Regions from separate parts of the Homo sapiens genome. Here region 1 is linked to region 2. The links are contacts of gene promoters, found by promoter capture Hi-C in human tissues and cell types (Jung and others, 2019). All regions are on one chromosome and are shown on one strand. The core of a region is centred on a gene start or on the middle of the fragment in contact, and the rest is flanking DNA. Distances in the headings are between cores, read along the strand shown. Region 1 has its middle 23 kb from the start of PLCE1. Region 2 holds the start of TBC1D12 (TBC1 domain family member 12).

Region 1 (2,700 bases), core at 53-2,552, 430 kb before region 2:
GTAAGAGCACAGCAGGAAAGCCTTGACCCTGTTCTACAATTTCTGAAGTCGCAGCTGGGATTCTCTGAGTGCTGGAATGCTAAAGAGCTGGGTGCTGTTAGGTATCTCTCTCTTTCTGTCTCTATATCATCATCCCTCAGTATCCACAGGGGATTTGTTCCAGGACCCCCATGGATATCAAATTCTGAGGATACTCAAGTCACTGATTATATAAAATGGCATAGTATACCAGCCTGGCCAACATGGTGAAACCCCTTCTCTTACAAAAATACAAAAATTAGCTGGGTGTGGTGGTGCATGCCTGTAATCCCAGCTGCTCGGGAGGCTGAAGCTGAAGAATCGCTTTAACCCGGGAGGCGGAGGTTGCAGTGAGCCGAGATCGTGCCATTGCACTCCAGCCTGGGCAACAGAGTGAGACTCCATCTCAAATAAACAAAAAAAATGGCAAAGTGATCCTGCTTTTAAGAGTGATACTTCTCCTTCTCCTTCTCCTTCTCCTTCTCCTTCTCCCTCTCCCTCTCCCTCTCCCTCTCCCTCTCCGTCTCCCTCTCCCTCTCCCTCTCCCCACGGTCTCCCTCTCCCTCTCTTTCCACGGTCTCCCTCTGATGCCGAGCCGAAGCTGGACTGTACTGCCGCCATCTCGGCTCACTGCAACCTCCCTGCCTGATTCTCCTGCCTCAGCCTGCCGAGTGCCTGCGATTGCAGGCGCGCGCCGCCACGCCTGACCGGTTTTCGTATTTTTTTGGTGGAGACGGGGTTTCGCTGTGTTGGCCGGGCTGGTCTCCAGCTCCTAACTGCGAGTGATCCGCCAGCCTCGGCCTCCCGAGGTGCCGGGATTGCAGACGGAGTCTGGTTCACTCAGCGCTCATTGGTGCCCAGGCTGGAGTGCAGTGGCGTGATCTCGGCTGGCTACAACCTCCACCTCCCAGCCGCCTGCCTTGGCCCCCCAAAGTGCCGAGATTGCAGCCTCTGCCCGGCCGCCACCCCGTCTGGGAAGTGAGGAGCGTCTCTGCCTAGTCGCCCATCGCCTGGGATGTGAGGAGCCCCTCTGCCTGGCTGCCCAGTCTGGAAAATGAGGAGCGTCTCTGCCCGGCCGCCATCCCATACAGGAAGTGAGGAGCGCCTCTTCCCGACCGCCATCCCATCTAGGAAGTGAGGAGCGTCTCTGCCCGGGCCGCCCATCGTCTGAGATGTGGGGAGCACCTCTGCCCCGCCACCCCGTCTGGGATGTGAGGAGCGCCTCCACCCGGCCACGACCCCATCTGGGAGGTGAGGAGCGTCTCTGCCCGGCCGCCCCGTCTGAGAAGTGAGGAGACCCTCCGCCTGGCAACCGCCCCGTCTGAGAAGTGAGGAGACCCTCCACCCGGCAGCCGCCCCGTCAGAGAAGTGAGGAGCCCCTCCGCCCGGCAGCCACCCCGTCTGGGAAGTGAGGAGCGTCTCCGCCCGGCAGCCACCCCGTCCGGGGGGGAGGTGGGGGGGTCAGCCAGCCACCCCGTCCGGGAGGGAGGTGGGGGGGTCAGCCCCCCGCCCGGCCAGCCGCCCCGTCGGGTAGGTGAGGGGCGCCTCTGCCCGGCTGCCCCTACTGGGAAGTGAGGAGCCCCTCTGCCCGGCCGCCACCCCGTCTGGGAGGTGTGCCCAGCAGCTCATTGAGAACGGGCCATGATGACAATGGCGGTTTTGTGGAATAGAAAGGGGGGAAAGGTGGGGAAAAGATTGAGAGGTTGGATGGTTGCCCTGTCTGTGTAGAAAGAGGTAGACATGGGAGACTTCTCATTTTGTTCTGTACTAAGAAAAATTATTCTGCCTTGGGATCCTGTTGATCTGTGACCTTACCCCCAACCCTGTGCTCTCTGAAACATGTGCTGTGTCCACTCAGGGTTAAATGGATTAAGGGCGGTGCAAGATGTGCTTTGTTAAACAGATGCTTGAAGGCAGCATGCTCGTTAAAAGTCATCACCACTCCCTAATCTCAAGTACCCCGGGACACAAACACTGCGGAAGGCCGCAGGGTCCTCTGCCTAGGAAAACCAGAGACCTTTGTTCACTTGTTTATCTGCTGACCTTCCCTCCACTATTGTCCTATGACCCTGCCAAATCCCCCTCTGCGAGAAACACCCAAGAATGATCAATAATAAAAAAAAAAAAAAAAAAAAAGAAACTATCCAATCCTCAGCCTGCTCAGCTGCTTACTCTGTTTCACCCATGCCTTCTGTGAAAACAACAGTAAAGGTTTTGCCCAGGCTTTTTCCTCATTCTGCTGCTTCCTGATTGACCTCGTTCTTCCCTGTGTGGCCCCTCATGGTGTGACATGCCCCTTTCTCTTGGAAACTGTAATAAACTTTTCTTTTAAAAGAAAAAAAAAAAATGGCAAAGTATTTGCATGTAACCTATATGCATCCTTCCTTATACTTTAAATCCTCTCTATATTACTAATAATACCTAATACTATGTAAATAATTGTTACACTGTTTTTTTTTTAATTTGTATTTTTCCTTTTTCCTCAAATATTTTCAATCCAAGGTTGGTTGAATCCACAGACAGGGAATAGCTTCTCCACACAACTATCTTAAGCTTCCTCCCAGCATGGGAACTTCACCCTCATTGCTTCTTACATGATATTTCAGGGCTCCAAGAGCAAGTGTTCAAAGAGACAAGAAGTAGAAGCTCTCTTTTTCTTAAGCCTCTAACCTGAAAACCGGC
Region 2 (2,746 bases), core at 140-2,639:
CGATTCTCCTGCCTCAGCCTCCCAAGTAGCTGGGATTACAGGTGCCCACCACCATGCCCAGCTAATTTTTCGTATTTTTAGTAGGGACTGGGTTTCACCATGTTGGCCAGGCTGGTCTCGAACTCCTGACCTCAGGTGATCCACCTGCCTCGGCCTCCCAACGTGTTGGGATTATAGGCGTGAGCCACTGCGCCCAGCCAACTCAAGTTTTAGAACTCTATATGCTGGATATTTTCAGTCGTTTACTTTACCAGATGTATTTCCCCTATTAATCGTTTTTTTCCTATCCACTTTTCTATTTCTTCAAACCATATCAGTTTCAGTCTCATATCTTTGTAGTAATCATTGGTTACTCTCTCTTCTGTCACTTCTGATCAGTTATCAAGTCTTTCGTCTTTTACTTTAAATATACTTCATTTCCACTCAATGGTCAATCATCCCATTTTAATCCACTATCGCAGAGTGCTGGAATTATTTCAATAGCTCCTCTCTGCCTGACCACTTCCTCTCCCTCCTTAGGTGATAATCTTTTTTTCTTGTTTGAGACGGAGTCTCGCTCTGTCGCCCAGGCTGGAGTGCAGTGGCGCGATCTCGGTTCACTGCAAGCTCCGCCTCCCGGGTTCACGCCATTCTCCTGCCTCAGCCTCCCGAGTAGCTGGGACTACAAGCGCCCGCCACCATGCCCAGCTAATTTTTTTGTATTTTTAGTAGAGACAGGGTTTCACCGTGTTAGCCAGGATGGTCTCCATCTCCTGACCTTGTGATCCACCCGCCTCGGCCTCCCAAAGTGCTGGGATTACAGGCGTGAGCCACCGCGCCCGGCCGGTGATAATCTTTTAAACAGAGGACTGTGATGAAACATGGTGCTAGGTGAGCAAGATAACTTAGGATATCTTTCTTTTGTGTTAGATGAAGTGAAGAAGGGAGGGTGTTGACCCTCCTGGATGAAGTGATGAAGCCCTGAACTGTGGCAATGATGCCGGAGAAGGATGTAAAAATCGTAAAGTCGACTGGTGACCAATTAGAGCTGGAAGGACTTACCCACGCTAACACCTCCCAAATATGGGAGTATTTTACTACCATAAATGAAATACATCAAGTGAATTTTTGCTAAGCGAGCAATACCCGCGCTTCGGTAAGAACTGTCACGCTTAGAGCGGGCCAACCAGCTTCCACCATCCAGATGGCGGATCCTAGATTGGCAGCCTGCGTCTCTCTAGCTACCGTCTCTATGGTTCGGGGAATCTCCAGGTCGGGGCTTGACCGGTCCGACTTTTGCGCGTGCGCGAGTCCTGGCGCGTGCCCGCCCTCAAGCAACTGTCCGACCCAGCGGGTGGGAGGGGTGGGTCTGGGAACGTTGCGGCGGCTGTCGCCGCGGCCCCAGCACCCAGAGCTGTTCTCTGGCCAAGCCTGCGCCTGTAGTCCTTCTTTGCCTCCTGGGGCGGCCGCCACCCACCCCCAGATGGTGGGTCCGGAGGATGCCGGAGCCTGCTCGGGAAGAAACCCCAAGTTGCTCCCGGTGCCTGCGCCGGACCCCGTGGGCCAGGACAGGAAGGTAATCCGGGCCACGGGCGGCTTTGGCGGAGGCGTCGGCGCTGTGGAGCCGCCGGAGGAGGCTGACGAGGAGGAGGAGGCTGACGAGGAGGAGGAGACGCCGCCTCGGCAGCTCCTTCAGCGTTACCTCGCGGCGGCCGGGGAGCAGCTGGAGCCGGGGCTCTGCTACTGTCCGCTCCCCGCTGGCCAGGCCGGCGCCCCGCCGCCCTCGGCAGCCCCACGATCGGACGCCTGCCTGCTGGGCTCGGGCTCCAAACACCGCGGCGCGGAGGTGGCTGATGGCCGCGCGCCGCGGCACGAAGGCATGACCAACGGCGACTCGGGTTTTCTGCCGGGCCGGGACTGTCGCGATCTGGAAGAGGCTCGCGGGCTGGCGCGCGCCGGCGGCCGGGAGTCGCGCCGCCGCCGCCCCTACGGCCGCCTTCGCCTGGAGGGGCCTGGCGACGAGGACGCGGACGGCGCGGGAAGCCCGTCCGATTGGGCCTCTCCGCTTGAGGACCCGCTGCGGAGCTGCTGCCTGGTGGCCGCGGACGCCCAGGAGCCCGAGGGCGCGGGCAGCGACTCGGGGGACAGCCCCGCCAGCAGCTGCAGCAGTAGCGAGGACTCAGAGCAGCGGGGAGTCGGCGCCGGGGGTCCCGAGGAGGGCGCGCCCCCTGCCACCTCGGCCGAGAGGACTAATGGGGGTGCGGAGCCGCGCCTGGGCTTTTCTGACATTCACTTCAACTCTCGCAACACGTTCCAGGTGAGCCGCGGTCAGAGCGCCCGCGATCACCTGCCCCCGGCGGGGCCGCCGGTGCCCTTGCCCGCCGCGGAGCAGGGTCCTGCGGGGGCTTCGGCCCGGGCTCGACGGAGTGGCGGCTTCGCGGACTTCTTCACCAGGTACAGCGCAGGCTGCATGGGACTCGGGGCGGGTCCGGGGCCGGGGCCGGAGCCGGGGTCTTGGTGGGAGTCGGAGCCGGAGCCGGAGCCGGAGCGGAGAGCTTGGTCGGCCGCTTCCGTGCCAGCCCCACACGCGTCAGGACTTAGCTTTGATTTGTCACTGGAGGAAGAGGAACTGGGTCGGCTTTGTGTTTCTATAGGAGAAGTTGTGAGCTCTGTGGACAGCGAGTCTTTCTGTTGCCTTGTCCGCGGGAGGCTGTACCTGCCATTCATACCTGGCTTCTGAGCAGTCAGGTTGGGCCAGCTGTCTAGT

Evidence for each region. The method cuts DNA at HindIII sites, captures the fragments that hold promoters and counts their contacts. A contact is called where the count stands out against the background at its distance.
Region 1: a contact is called between a fragment that was not itself captured here and the fragment with the promoter of TBC1D12 in region 2, in 1 of the 25 tissues and cell types used here (mesendoderm cells).

What each region holds. Positions count from the first base shown.
Region 1 is chr10:93,969,478-93,972,177 of GRCh38, forward strand. No RefSeq gene overlaps it. Among named protein-coding and RNA genes, the nearest start is that of PLCE1, 23 kb to the right of the region's middle. The HindIII fragment of the contact is 6,988 bases long and covers 1-2,700 here.
Region 2 is chr10:94,401,152-94,403,897 of GRCh38, forward strand. TBC1D12 (TBC1 domain family member 12) reads left to right here and starts at 1,390. Exons shown (of 13, transcript NM_015188.2): 1 at 1,390-2,433. The coding sequence starts at 1,463. RefSeq lists enhancers at 1,138-1,297, 2,598-2,746 and silencers at 1,628-2,117, 2,188-2,517. The HindIII fragment of the contact is 13,183 bases long and covers 1-2,746 here.